Regions from separate parts of the Homo sapiens genome. Here all the other regions are linked to region 2. The links are contacts of gene promoters, found by promoter capture Hi-C in human tissues and cell types (Jung and others, 2019). All regions are on one chromosome and are shown on one strand. The core of a region is centred on a gene start or on the middle of the fragment in contact, and the rest is flanking DNA. Distances in the headings are between cores, read along the strand shown.

What was found. The method cuts DNA at HindIII sites, captures the fragments that hold promoters and counts their contacts. A contact is called where the count stands out against the background at its distance.
Region 1: the fragment with the promoter of DOK3 here is called in contact with a fragment that was not itself captured in region 2 in 1 of the 25 tissues and cell types used here (lymphoblastoid cells).
Region 3: a contact is called between the fragment with the promoter of DBN1 here and a fragment that was not itself captured in region 2, in 2 of the 25 tissues and cell types used here (liver and lymphoblastoid cells).

The regions. Positions count from the first base shown.
Region 1 is chr5:177,507,008-177,511,691 of GRCh38, forward strand. DOK3 (docking protein 3) reads right to left here and starts at 2,819. Exons shown (of 6, transcript NM_001308236.3): 1 at 2,751-2,819; 2 at 2,468-2,650; 3 at 1,230-1,535. The coding sequence starts at 2,533. DDX41 (DEAD-box helicase 41) reads right to left here. Exons shown (of 17, transcript NM_016222.4): 17 at 4,570-4,684. RefSeq lists enhancers at 1,075-1,184, 1,205-1,254, 3,075-3,224 and a silencer at 2,805-2,944. The HindIII fragment of the contact is 13,536 bases long and covers 1-4,684 here.
Region 2 is chr5:178,187,976-178,192,541 of GRCh38, forward strand. No RefSeq gene overlaps it. Among named protein-coding and RNA genes, the nearest start is that of GMCL2, 2.9 kb to the left of the region's middle. The HindIII fragment of the contact is 8,651 bases long and covers 1-4,566 here.
Region 3 is chr5:177,470,186-177,474,951 of GRCh38, forward strand. DBN1 (drebrin 1) reads right to left here and starts at 3,449. Exons shown (of 15, transcript NM_001363541.2): 1 at 3,251-3,449. The coding sequence starts at 3,336. RefSeq lists enhancers at 191-736, 2,307-2,810, 2,811-3,312 and silencers at 2,461-2,647, 2,567-2,936, 2,967-3,166, 3,247-3,626, 3,637-3,686. The HindIII fragment of the contact is 16,715 bases long and covers 1-4,766 here.

The DNA of each region.
Region 1 (4,684 bases), core at 1,569-4,068, 680 kb before region 2:
ACAAGGCTGTGCACTGTTGCCACTGTCTAGTTCCAGAACTTTTCCATCATCCCACATGGAAGCCCTGTACCCATGAGCAGCCACTCCCCACTTCTCCCTTCCTCCAGCTCCTGCCAACACTCATCTGATTTCTATCCCAATGGAGTTACCTTGTCTGTACATTTCTTTCTTTCTTCTTTTCTTTTTTTTTTTTGAGACAGGGTCTCACTATGTTGCCCAGGCTGATCTTGAATTCCTAGGCTCAAGCAATCCTCCTACCTCAGCCTCCCAAAGTGCTAAGATTACAGGCAAGAGCTACTGTGCCAGGCGTTTGTTTGTTTTTATGGCTGAGTAGTATTCCATCTTGCGGACGGACCACGTTTTGCTTATCCATTTGTCAGCTGATGGCCATGTAGGCTGTTTCCACCTTCTGGTGGCTGTGAGTAGTGCTGCTATGGACGTTCATGTCCATGTGGGTTTTTTTTTAAGATAGGGTCTTGCTCTGTCTCCCGGGCTGGAGTGAAGTGGCACGATTACAGCTCACTGCAGCCTCGACCTCTGGGGCTCATGCGATCCTCCTGCCTCACATGTACATGTTTTGTTTGAACACCTGTTCAAGTTCTCTTGGGCACACACCTAGGAGTGGACCTGTGGGCCACATGGTAACTCTGTTTACCTCTTTGAAGAACCCCCAGGCTCACTTCCTTTTGACCCATCACAGACCTTTTGGGGCTTTACAAACATGTCCGGCTTAAACCCTCCAAAGCCTTCGCCTCTCACTCAGAACAAAACCACACACATGGCCTAGGGCATTTCAGCCGCTCTCCTAAGCTCTGTGAGTTGGCTTCCTCCTGCACTCCTTTCCTTCCAGCCACGTCGCCTTCTTTCTGCCCTTAAACACCCCACACTGTCCGGCCTCGGGGCCTCTGCCCACGGGACTCCCTCTGTTCACAACTCCCCAGGCTGCCCCTGTCCTCAGACCTTTGCCCAGTGGGTTCCTGTCATTCAGGGCCCTCCTCTGAGAGGCCTTCCCTGGCCACCCTGCCCGTCGCTCCCTCACTTCCTCCTGCTCCCCTGGCGGTCCATTTTCTCCATGGCACGCACGGCCCTCTGAGAGTCATTATAGATTTACTTTTCCCAGGCTTGTAGGTGCTCGGTGGAGCTTGCTGGGTGATGGGATGTGAGCGTGGAGGTGGACAAGTCGGGGGCAGGTGCCCCAGCCCAATCGCCCCCCTGCTCGCCGCACTCACCGGGAAGGCCAGCTGGCAGATGGGGCCCATCCAGGCCTGGCGGTGCTGAGCAGCCAGTAGATGGCTTCGCTCGGTGGTGGTGAGCAGGAAGGCACCGGTGTCCCGGGGGCAGCTCTCGCCGTCAGCCGGCAGCACGGACACACAGTCAGCCAGGCGGATGACCCGTCGCTCCCCTCGCCGGCCAGGCCCTGCCGACCTGTCACCCGCTGCTCCCAGGCCACCATCCCGGACCTCCCAGCTCTCCAGCCGTGCCACGCCTGATGGGCCTCCTGCATACAGCAGAGCCCACACCTTCCGCCAGCACTTCTGCGGGAGGGGAGCGGGAGGGTGAAGACCCTTGGGTGGCAGATTGTCCGTGCCACTTGGCTCAGCACAAGCTGCTCGGCAAACGCTCCCAGCCAGGAGCGGGCCTCTGCTCCCCAGTTTCTCAGGGAGCCAGGTAAGGAGGCCTTGGCTATGCTTGGGATTGGTCAGCCCTGGGTTCAAATCCCAGCCCGCTCTTTCCTAACTGTGACCTCCACAAGCATCAATGTCGTCTCTCAAAAGGCCATGAGAACTCGAGCTGGGACTGCTACTGGGTCATGTTTGTAAAGCATCCAGTGGCCGGGCAGACCACCAGACACTGCCATTATATTGGTTCCCTCTCACCCCCAAAAAGGGGCACTTGGGCCACAGGCCAAGAGCTGGGGTGGGAGGGAGGCCTCTGCCTCAAGCTGTTAAGGAAGGAAACATGCAAATAGCTTCGAGCAAAGGAAACTGACGGTTTATCTGCCTGGGCAGCAGCTGCAGCTGAGCTGCGGGGGTGTGGGGCTGCTGCCGAGGAGAGGTGACCCCCTGCCTCCTTGCTCCCAGGACAGTGCCGCTGCAGGGAGGGGCTCCACCCTTGAGGCCTCCTCCAGCTCAGCCCCTCACCCTATTTAGGGCCCTCGGTGGCACTATTTCATGGGTCAGAGGCTGTGAAGCTCTTCCCTGCTGGGAGGTTTGAGCCTTCGACCCTCTCCCACTCCTGTATTTCCCATCTCTCCCGGAGGCAGGGTCTGGCAGAGCCTGCTCAGCCCCTGCCGTCTCAGGCTGACACCCGCACTCCATTCCACTCCCCATACCTGGGTGGGATCCTCCACCCTGACTCCCTTCCCAAGTCTCCCAGGTCTGCCTGGGCTGTCCGAGGCAGGGGCAGAGGCTGCATTCTCCACCCACTGTTGGTCCTTGGCAGCTGCCTGGCAGCCAGGGGTCCCCACCTTGCCAAACTTGACATGCTGCTGGTAGAGGATGCCATCCTTGATAGGGGTCTCCAGAGGGTCCATGGTCACGGCCAGGAGCAGGGCCGCCGCTTCAAGACCTGGGGAGACTGATGACAGGCTGGACGGGAACTCCTCACACTTCCCCTTCTGGCCACTTCCCGTCCCTCCGTCTAGAGACAGCTGCAGGCCGGGGGGAGGGGAGCCTGTCTTCAGCTCAGGGGCTGGGGGCAGCATGTATTTCCTCCCTGGGGTTCTGGCTGCCCAAGGTGCCCACACCTACCTGGAGGGAGCCCCCGGCCACCTGAAGGCAGCCTTCTCACGCACCTGGTTCAGCTGGGCACGCGCGTCTGATCGCAGTCTGGCTCCCCGAGTCATGAGTTCCCGCCCCTCCCCCGTCCCGCCCCGGGCAGCTGCGCACCCTGGGCCTGACACTCCCTGGCCCTGCCTCCACCCAGGACCCTTCTCTAGCCAACTCCTGGCTTTCCCACTCGGCGTCCTGGTTTGAGCGCCTCACCCCATCTTGCTGCTTTTCTTTCTCCCTGAAATCTCTCTCGTGTTCACCTGCTCCTCTCCACCTCACGAGCCACTGAACATCACCAGCCTTTGGCATCCCCCCAGGGGCCACTGCCCCACTGGGCCTCCATGCAGCACTCTCCACAACCCAAGACCAACCTGTCTCTCCCCTTCCTGGGGTGCAGCCCAGGCTCCTCAGCCCAACACTCAGGGACCTGTGTGTTCTGGCCTGCATCTCCCCCAGGCCAGCCCCTCCAGGGCCCCCTCACCACTGTGCTGCCTGGGGCGGTTGGCCACCTCTTCCTCCTGGAGGCCTCCCTTGACCACTCCACGCTGTCCGAGAGCTCAAAGGCCCTCACGGTATACACTCACGCTGGGCATCCAGTCCACATGGGACCCACAGCCCTGAATGGCCCCAACCACGTGAGTGTGGGTGGCAGGTCCCAGGGGGCCCCGGAGAGGTCACATGTTCATTTAAAGCTTTGCTTCCTGCTGGGGGCGCCTTTTGTTGGCTTGCCTAGCAAGATGCCAATAGCGGGGCTGTGTGTATACCTTTATTCTGGAACAGCCTCAGGTCATTCAGCACCACCTCTGGGAGAGAACATGGAAGAGGATAAGGAATGCCATTTGGGAATGCACTTGGCCAGGAAATATGTCCTGAAGGCCTCCTGGCACCCAGCTCTGTGCCCACTGTGGCCCAAGCAGCCCTAAGCTCCGTCCACCTCAGACGCCACATCCTTTGCGTTCTCATCGCCATTTCAACAGTGAGGAAATCGGTGCTCAGAAAAATTAAGTAACTTGCCCAATGCCACATATCAAGTGACAAATATGGCTTGAGCAACCGCTGTCTCACTGGAATGAGCATGTGGCCATACATGCAAAGTGCCTGGCTCAGAGGAAGTGTGGCCGCCTGTGCCGTCCCTGCCTACCTCTCACCAGATGCTGAGATCCTGCCTCATCTGCTAGCGGTCTTGTGACTGCCGTCCACGTTTCTGCGTGTGCGTCTTTCTCTCCCCTCGCCTGACGGCTTCCCAGGCAGCCATCTCCCTGGCCCATCTAGGTCCTCACAGCTCAGCAGAGCTGGGCACAGAGCAGGCTTAGGGAGAGCTTGTGGCCTAAATGGCAGTTCTATGACATCTGCTGCCTCCTCAGTCAACGGAATGGAGGGCTCCCTCCAGGTGGCTGGCACAGGCAGGCAGTGGGTGGGGGTCCTGAGGCAAGAAGCAGCCTCCCAAGGGGCTTCAGGAGAAGTCCCTGAAACATCACAGCCCTGACAGGAAGAGTGGGCCTGAGAGCTATGACAGCTGGCCAGGGAGACCAGAGAATCCAAGCACTTCTCCTTGGCCCGCCAATGTGGTCCCTCCTTGAGTCATAAATTCAGACAACCCAGTGGAGAGACCCAGAGTCCCCAGAGGCGGGCACCAGCTCGGTGGCTCCTTCCACAGCCAAGTACCAGCAGGCCAGGTGTTGGCAGTGCTAGTGGGAGATGCTGGGGCCTTGCCTCAGAGGGGCTCCAGAGGTCAGAGGTGACGTCTGTCCAGGAACCAGGGGGCGGATGAGGTGAAACACAGAGGCAGGGCCAGGGCTGGGCTAGAGGTTTGGGCTTTAATGGCAGCTGGGGTAAAAGGAAACAAAAACAGTAATTCTGAAGAGCACAGGGAACAGGCAGCCAGGACCAGCCTGGCCCATCCCAGGCCAGCT
Region 2 (4,566 bases), core at 781-3,280:
TGAGCCTAACCAGTCCAATGTAAATTTGCGACCAGGCACAAAAATAAAATAAAATAATAAAATAAAATAGGCCAGGCTCGGTGGCTCATGCCTATAATCCCAGCACTTTGGGAGGCCAAGGTGGGTGGATCACATGAGGTCAGGAGTTTGAGACTGGCCTGGCCAACATGGTGAAACCCCATCTCTACTAATAATATAAAATTTAGCCAGGTGTGGTGGTGCACGCCTGTAATCCCAGCTTTTCGGGAGGCTGAAATGGAGAACTGCTTGAACCCAGGAGGCAGAAGTTGCAGTGAGCCAAGATCGCATCATTACATTCCAGCCTGGGCGACAAGAGCGAAATTCCGTCTCCAGAAAAAAATAATAAGATAAAATAAAATAGAATAAAGACTTGAAGTCAAGCCAGGTACGGTGGCTGCTCACACCTGTAATCCCAGCACTTTGGGAGGCCGAGGTGGGCAGATCACGAGGTCAGGAGTTCAAGACCAGCCTGGCCAATATGGTGAAAGTGACCATGGCTGGGTGAAATGATCACTGCAGCCGGTCTGGGAAGGCAGAAGCAAGCAGAGGGCCTGGGCAGGATAGGCAGGGATTCTCTGTGGGGAGGATCTGTGGAGACAGGGGCAGCAGGATTAGGATGTCGGAATTGAGGAGGCTTTTGTCCTTGGGGGATGGAGTGGAGAAGTGGGGCATGGTCCTGGAAATTTGCCCTGCAGCCTCACCAGGCCATCTGGAAGCTACTTGTTGGGAACCCCGTGTGTGTAAAGGGCTGACCCAGGCCCAGACCCGGAGGAACTGGAGAAGGGCACACACTGAGACCACCCGAGGGGTGTGCTGGAACTGCTTGGCCAGTCCTTGGGGATGGGATGGCTGGGGCATGTGGGTGTCTTCCTGTAAGAAAACAGGACTTGATGAGGAAGGTGGGAGGCTGTTCCAGGCAGATGGAGGTCTGTGCCCCCAGAGCAATGTAGGAGTCGCCATGCGGGGCTCCATCTTTGGTACAGTGGGGGCAGAGATTGGCGAGGGGCATCAGGGCCAGATATGTAGGTGTGGGGAGCCCTAGATGGGCCAGTGCTGCAGGGGGAGGCAAGGTCATGCCAGGGAGGTGGATGGGACGCTGGACACAAGTGAAGAGTGACCAGCCCTGTGGCTTCCTCAAACCTATGTGAGTGCCTGCCCCATTCCCAGATGAAGAAAACAGAGGTTTCAATAGGGAAAGTGACTTGTTCTAAATCCCAGAGTTGGGAAGTCAGGAAGCTCAGCCTCCTGATTCCAAAGGCAAATCTGGAGTTTCTGTTGGAGTTAAGGGGCCAGGTGAATGGTCTATGTTGACCAAAAAAAAAAAAAAAAAAAAAAAAAAGCTCTGTAAAATGTTTAAAGAAGTTTATTCTCTGGCGTGAACCCGGGAGGCAGAGCTTGCGCCACTGCACTCCAGCCTGGGTGACAGAGCGAGACTCCATCTCAAAAAAAAAAAAAAAAAAAGAAGTTTATTCTCAGCTGATATGAGTGACCATGACCTGGGGTACAGTCTCAAGAGGTCCTGAGAAAGTGTGCCTCAGATGGTTGGGTTATAGTTTGGTTTTATACATTTTAGGGAGACAGAGGTTACAAGCAAATACATCAATCAATACATGTAAAGTACACATTGCTTCAGCCTATAAGGGCAGGACAACTCCAGGGGAGTTACAGGTCATAGGTGATTCAAAGGTTTTCTGATTGGCAATTGGTTGAAAAAGTTAAGCTTTGTCTAAAGAGTTGAAGTGGCTGGGTACAATGACTGACATCTGTAATCCCAGCACTTTGAGAGGCCGAGGAGGATGGCTTGATCCCAGGAGTTTTCAACAAGCCTGGGCAGCGTAGTGAGACCCGGTGTCTACAAAAAAATTTTAAAAATTAATTGGGCATCGTGATGTGCACCTGTAGTCCCAGCTACTTGGGAGGCTAAGGTGGGAGGATTACTTAAGCCCAGGAGGTCGAGCCTATGGTGAGCCATGACTGTGACACTGCATTCCAACTCGGGGGACAGAATGAGACCCTGTCTCAAAAATAAAATAAAACAGGCCAGTTGCAGTAGCTCACACCTGTAATCCCAGCACTTTGGGAGGCCAAGGCAGATGGATCACTTGAGGTCAGGAGTTCAATACCAGCCTGGCCAATATGGTGAAACCCCATCTCTACTAGAAATAGAAAAATTAACTGGGAGTGGTGGCATGCATCTGTAATCCCAGCTACTCTGGAGCCTGAGGCAGGATAATTGCCTGAACCTGGGAGGTGGATGTTGCAGTTAGCCGAGGTCGCACCATTGCACTCCAGCCTGGGCAACAAGAGTGAAACTCCATCTCCAAAAAAAATAGTAAGATAAAATAAAATAAAGAGTTGAAGGCATGGTGGCTCACGCCTGTAATCCCAGCAGTTTGGAGGCCAAGGAGGGCAGATCACGAGGTCAGGAGTTCGAGACCAGCCTGGCCAATATGGTGAAACCCTGTCTCTACTAATAGTACAAAAATTAACTGGGTGTGGTAGCACACATCTGTAGTCTCAGCTACTCTGGAGGCTGAAGCAGGAGAATCGCTTGAACCCAGGGAGGTGGAGGTTGCATTGCACTCCAGCCTGGGCGACAGAGCGAGATTCCATCTCAAAAAAAAAAAAAAAAGCGTTGAAGTCAGTGGGAAGAAATGCTTGGGTTAAGAAAGGGGTTGTGGAAGCTGAGGTTCTTGTTACGTAGATGAAGCCTCCAGGTAGCAGCCCTCAGAATAGATAGTGAATGTCTCTTTTCAGACCTTCAAAAGTCTCAGACTCTCATTGAATCTCTCCTAAATCTGACAAAGTCCTGGCTACATTAATGGAAATTCTCTACAGATGCAAATTTCCCCCATGGGAGACAGCTTTGCAGGGCCATTTCAAAATATTGTCAAATAAATATATTTTGGGGTAAAATATTTTGATGCCCTTCAGGGTCTGCTATCTGTTACGTGATGTACCAGAGTCAGGTAGAAATTTGGCATCTTATTGCTACAAAAATTCTGTTTTGAGCCAGGCACGGTGTCTCACACCTGTAATCCCAGCACTTTGGGAGGCTGAGGTGGGTGGATCACCTGAGGTCAAGAGGTCAAGAGTTTGAGAGCAGCCTGGCCAACATAGTGAAACCCCATCTCTACTAAAAATACAAAAAATTAGCTGGATGTGGTGGTGGGCGCCTGTATTCCCAGCTACTCAGGAGGCTGAGGCAGAAGAATTACTTGAACCCGGGGGCCAGAGGTTGCAGTGAGCCAAGATCATGCCATTGCACTCCAGCCTGGGCAACAAGAGCGAAACTCTGTCTAAAAAAAAAAAGTCTGTTTTGTCAGTCTTATGATCTCTATTTTATTTATTTATTTTTAATTTATTTTATTTTATTTTTGAGACAGAGTTTCACTCTCGTTGCCCAGGCTGGAGTGTAATGACGCTATCTCGGCTCACTGCAGCTTCTACCTCCCAGGGTCAGACAATTCTTGTGCCTCAGCTTCCCAAGTAGCTGAGATTACAGGCATGTGCCACCATGCCTGGCTAATTTTTTGAATTTTTTGTAGAGATGGGGTTTCATCATGTTGGCCAGGTTGGTCTCGAACTCCTGACCTCAAGTGATCCACCTGCCTTGGCCTCCCAAACTGCTGGGATTACAGGAATGAGCCACTGCGCCTGGCTAGAATAAATACTTTATGCTTTGGGCCAACAGGCAAAATCGAGGGTATGAAGTCGGTAAGTACATACCAAGAAATGAAACCAACTTCCATAATTTGGGGGGATTGCTATTGACAGAATGTCAAAGTTAATTTATGGATGCTGAAAGTTGAGTTTCATACAATTTTTATGTGTCATGAAATATTATTATTTTCATTATTTATTTATTTATTTGTTTATTTATTTATTTATTTTTGATACAGAGTCTTGCTCTGTCATCCAGACTGTGATCTCAGCTCACTGCGACCTCTGCCTTCTGGGTTCAAGCGATCCTCTGCCTCAGCCTCCCAAGTAGCTGGGATTACAGGCACATGCCACCACACCTGGCTAATTTTTTTGTATTTTTAGTAGAGATGGGGTTTCACCATGTTCAAGGCCAGGCTGGTCTTGAACTCCTGACCTCAAGTGATCTGCCTGCCTCAGCCTCCCAAAGTGCTGGGATTATAGGTGTGAGCCACTGCACTCAGCCTGATTTTTTTTTCAATGATTTAAAAATGTAAAAACCATTCTTTGTTCAGGGATCATATAAAATCAAGCAGTAAGCAAAATTTGGGCTATGGGCCATAGTTTGCCAACTCCTGGTCTAGATCTGCCCTGTTCATCATAGTAGCCACTGGCTACATGCAGCTATTGAGTACTTGAAATGTGGCCAGGGACAGTCACGATGGCTCACACCTGTAATCTCAGCACTTTTGGAGGTTAACGTGGGAGGATGGCTTGAACCCAGCAGTTTCAAGTTACAGCAAACTATGATTGCAACACTGCATCCCAAACCTGGGTGACAGGGAAAGAAAGAAAAAGAGAGAGAGAGAGGGAGGGAGAGAGAGAGAGAGAAGGAGGAGGAGG
Region 3 (4,766 bases), core at 2,199-4,698, 720 kb before region 2:
TTACCCCCAGCCCCAGCCTGGCCCTGACAGATGCTTCCAGCACAGCTGGCCCACCACCTGTCCTGCTGCCCTAACCCACCACGGGAACAAAGGGCCCTGGGAGAAGCAGGCTCTGTCTCTCTCCATGCACTGATGAGAAACTAATGCAGAGCCCAGGGACCCTAGTTCCTAGAGACTGCTGTAGACATCAAGCCTCCCTCTGAGAGGACCTGTCTTGGCCTGCCTAGGCTCCCCGGGGTGCCTTCCATCCTCAGCCCCTGGCTCCCCACCTCCGGCCACCTCTTCCTGCTCCAGCCGCAGCTCTCCCCCAGCAGAAACCATACCCCAGTTCAAACCCTCCAGCCTGCCTTTCCATTGGACCACCCTGTCCACACCACACACTTGGGACACACTGGACGGCTCCCTGACCCAAGCAGGGTTCTGGACAGGGCTCACCCTGAAGCCTCTGCCTATGTAGTTCTCTTCACGTGGAAGGCAAGACCTGCTCCTCTACCCCACGCCTATTCCCAGTGGAATGCTTCCGTTCTTCAGAGCCCAGTGCTGGCCCCCAGCAGCCTCTCCTGAGCTGCCCCTCCCAGAGCACCCACCATATCCCAGCAGGAATACAAAGACCAGTGCTTCTCAACCACATCAGAGGCACCCCGAGCCTGGTGGTGCACCAGGTGGAAGCTGGCGAAACCACAGGGAATCAGGATGGGGTAGGCGACCAGGCATCTACACATCTCACCAGCTCCAACTCCTGGAGACAGACACTGCCCCCAGCTGTAAGCCTGGTGAAGGCAGGAACGCTGACTCAGTCAATCAGCACATCCTGCTCTCTGGGTCCTGGGGTCCAGCACACCGCATACCAGAAGTATGTGTGATATTGACACCAACTCAAAAGCCATCTAGCCAGATAAACTGAACTAGCGTGAGGTGGGAGCTGGAATGTGGCAGTTCCAGAGACCCTGGGGTGAGCTGGGATGGGGGGTGAGCTGGGGTGGAGGGTGAGCTGGAGTCGGGGGCTGAGGGCAGGTGGACCCCGCAGGACCATCACTCTCAGGATGGTGGTGCTAGAAAGGCCTTCAGTATCCGAGGTAGTGCTGGGCCCAATCCCTTTTCTTTCCAAGAGGACCAGGAACTTGTGTATGATCACAGTGAGTCATATCACAACCAGGACAACAGTGGCCCTTCCCACCACACAACCTCATTTCCTGGGTCCCCTGCTCCCTGTGCCAGAGTAGTGGTGCACTTCAGAGGCCCTGCCACCTAGGAGTGAACTCCCCCAACCACCCCTCCCCATTGGAGGCAAGGTAAGGGTCGGGGGGCAGACAGCAATTTACCCAAGACACCCCTCCCTCTGGACCTATGTGCAGGGTCTGCCTCTGAGTCTTCAGACCTCACTGCACCCCTGGTTCCATGCTGGGCCCTGGGGTATTCATATTCTCTTGTGTAGAAAGTGATCCTCACACCCCTTTTTCAAAATGTTATCTGGGCCCTTAGTGAACGAATGTGTGCATGTGCGAGGGTACATGTGTGCATCTGTGTGTGTCCCACACACAACCCAGATGGGGGCTGACGCACACCAGTGATGAATAACTCGCTTTGGCCACACGGATGCTGCTGGGGTGGGTGGGGGCAGGCCTGTGTTGAGCAGGATGTGGGGCAACAGGGGTTGTGTGGCCTTGGCAATAGGCCACCAGAGCTCTGCTTTTAGGAGAAAATGGGGTGTTGGTAGACAACACCCCTCCAGGCTGGAGGGCAAAGGAGGTGTTCTGGGGTGAGCTGTGCTTCTCCCCAGGCGGGGCCTTATCCCAAAGCCAGCTCCTTCACCAGGCCAAGCCGGCCACTTGCCCAGAGCTCCTCCCATGATCTCAGCCCCCCTGGGGCAGGGCTGGGACAATGGGTGGGCCGCCTGCCTGCTGAGCCTGTGCCGGCCTCTCCTGTGACTGACCTGCAGGACACGAGAGCTTGTCTCTCGCGTCCATCCCTCCAGGCCTGGCTGCTGGCCAGTGCTGCAGTACCATGCCATGGATGCCCAGCCATCTCATCCTCTCCTCCAGAAGCCCCCAGGTCAGAGTCCCCACCTGGCTGCCCTCCCAGTGTGCGGGTGAGGCCAGCCCAAGCGGGGTCCCTCAGACCTGCCCTCCTCTTTGCCTCAGTTTCCTCAAGAAGAACCTGTTCCCATCTGCCAGCAGGGAGAGGAGGCCTAGGAACCAGATGGGCACCTTCCCTAGAAGAAGAGTATTACGGGGGGGTTAAAGGATTCCAGGATGGGGCTGTGAGGAACCCCTCGGTTTCCTTTTTCCACCACCCTGGGCCGCCAGCCCCAGAGCAGGTGGTCCATCCCCTCCCCCAGCTCAGCGGGAGACAACAGCTGGGGGGCGGGGTGAGGGGCGGCCCAGCTCCTCCCCCATCAGGGACCGAGTGCCCCTTGCTGGGGGCCGGTGGATCTGTTCACCCCTTCAGCCGTCTTTGGGGGCTCCCTCCACACTTGTTCTCCAGAGGGCTTCCTCCCAGGGATCTCAGCTGGCCCCTTAGGCAGCTCGGTGCCCCCCAGCCCAGCTGCCTAGTCCCCGCAGTCCCCTTCAGGTAGGGGAGGAGAGCTCACCCCTGCCTCCTCCGCGACCCGCGGCGGTAAGGGAGTCACTTCGCGGTCGCCATGTGGCAGCAAACATCCTTCCACCTCACTCCAGCCCAGGTTTCGGGGGGAGGGCGGCCCACTCCGAGAGGCCCCCCGGTGGGCGGGGCGCCCGGCCCCCAGCCCGCTCCGCTCCTCCCCCGCCCTCGCTTTCCTTTGTGCTGTGGCCGGGCCGGGCTGAGCCGGGCAGGCTGCGCTGGCTCCGCTAGCTCGGTCCCCGCCCCGTCCCCGCCCGGACCTCGCCCGCTCGAAGGTGGCGAAGGTGCCCTTGGCCGCCCCGTGCACACCTGTCCCCCGGGCCCGGGGGGTAGGGTGGGGGATGGGCTCCCGCAGGGCCACGCGGCCCCGGGCCCCACATCGGGACCCCGCGCCTCCGGGCCGCGTCCGGCCGCCGCTCCCACCGCGCGCCTTGGGCCGCCTCCGGGCGCTCGGGGCCCGGCAGTGCCCCGCCTGGCCCGCCGGCCCCTCCCCCGGCGCGCACAAAGGCAGCCCCTCCCGGCCCTCCCGGCCCGCTGCACCATTTCGGGGTCCCCCTCCCTTCCCGGCGGCGGGGCGGCGGGGCGGGAGAGAAACAAAGGCGCGGCGGCGGCGCGGGGACAAAGGGGCCGGGGGCGGGGGCGGGGGGCTCACCAGTCGGCCGCGCTCTCCTCTCGGATCACCTCCTCGTAAGCCGCCAGCAGCTCCAGGCGGTGGCCGCTGAAGCTGACGCCGGCCATGCTTCGGGCCGGACCGGGCCGAACGGACAGACGCGCGGACGGACGGGCGGACGGAGGAGGAGGGAGGGAAAGAGGGAGTCGCCGCCGCCGCCTCGGAGCCTCTGCAGCGTCGCGAGCCGAGCGAGCCAGCGGCCGGGGGAGGGGAGCCGGCCGGCGGGGGGCGGGGGGCGCTGGCTCCGCCCGGCTCGCTCCCTCCGCTCGCTCGGTCCTAGCGCCGCCCCGGCCCGGCCCAGGGGGAGGCCCGCCCCCCCTTCCCGGCCTGCCCCGGGCGCCCCTCACCCACCGCCCCTGCGCGCCGCTCCAGGGCCAGCCCCACCCACGTCCCGAACCCTCACCTGCCCCGTCCGTAACCTCGGCGCTAGCCCTCCTTCCAGCCCCGAACCCAGTCCCGTCCCCACCTCCCCCCGCCCACCCCCCGTCCCAATCCGGTTCCGCCCCACCCATTGCTTCATTGATCTCCATTCCTGGTGCGTCCCACCTCATGTTAAACCCATTTTCATCCCAACCCAGCTCACACAACACCCCACCCCTGGCCCGTCTCCTTTCCCTGAGAGGTCCTTGCCTAGTCTATCCCATCATATCCACTGTCATCTGCATCCCACCCTCAAATCCACCCCAGTTGCTTTCCCATCCCAGCTTCAGCCCCATGCTTAGCACGTGTCCCCCCCAACATGTGTCACGGCACATCTTCAGTCCAACCCATCCCAGTCTCATCCTGATCCCAGTTCCCAATTCCCAACCACAGCCCCCCATCTCGGCTCCATGACCACTTATTCCAGGCCATTCTCAGCCCCTACCCAGCTCATTATCCCTCCATTCCAGGCCTCTCCTCCCCTCCACGCCTGTGCCCTCTCAGATGGGGCCAGCTAGGAGATCCTTTGCATTCTCTCTCAAGCCTCACGCCTCCCAGAGGAGTCCCAAGTAGAGTTCCGGAAGCAGCATCTAACCCCAGACTCCCACGGCAGGGCTCCTCCAAGGACGCTCAGGGCCAGCCTCTTGGCACCTTTATCTCCTAAAGCTCTAAGCACAGAACGGGAGGGGGCCTCAGAAAAGTACCCCCTGCAAGGGAGTGGACACCATGCCAGGGCCTTCCAGAACTCCGTTCCTTGCTAGGTTGGGACCCTGAAACCGTCCACAGCGCTTAGAAGCCTTTTCCACCACTACAAAGCCTCCAACCTCGACCTCCCTGAGCAAACTTCACCTGGTCCCAACCGCACCGCGGAGGAGGAGGTGGTTCTAGCCAGGCCTCCGAGTTCTGCGTTGGGTAATTGGCTATGCCAAGAGAAGGAGAGCAGGGCTGCCTATGTGGCAGTGTTCCTGGCGCTTTGGAGTTGGGAGAACCCTCTTAAAACTCAAAATACTCACAGGCCCCTGCCTTGGGAAGTCAGTGCCCACTATGTCTAGGGACCACAGGCCATGGCAATTTCTCC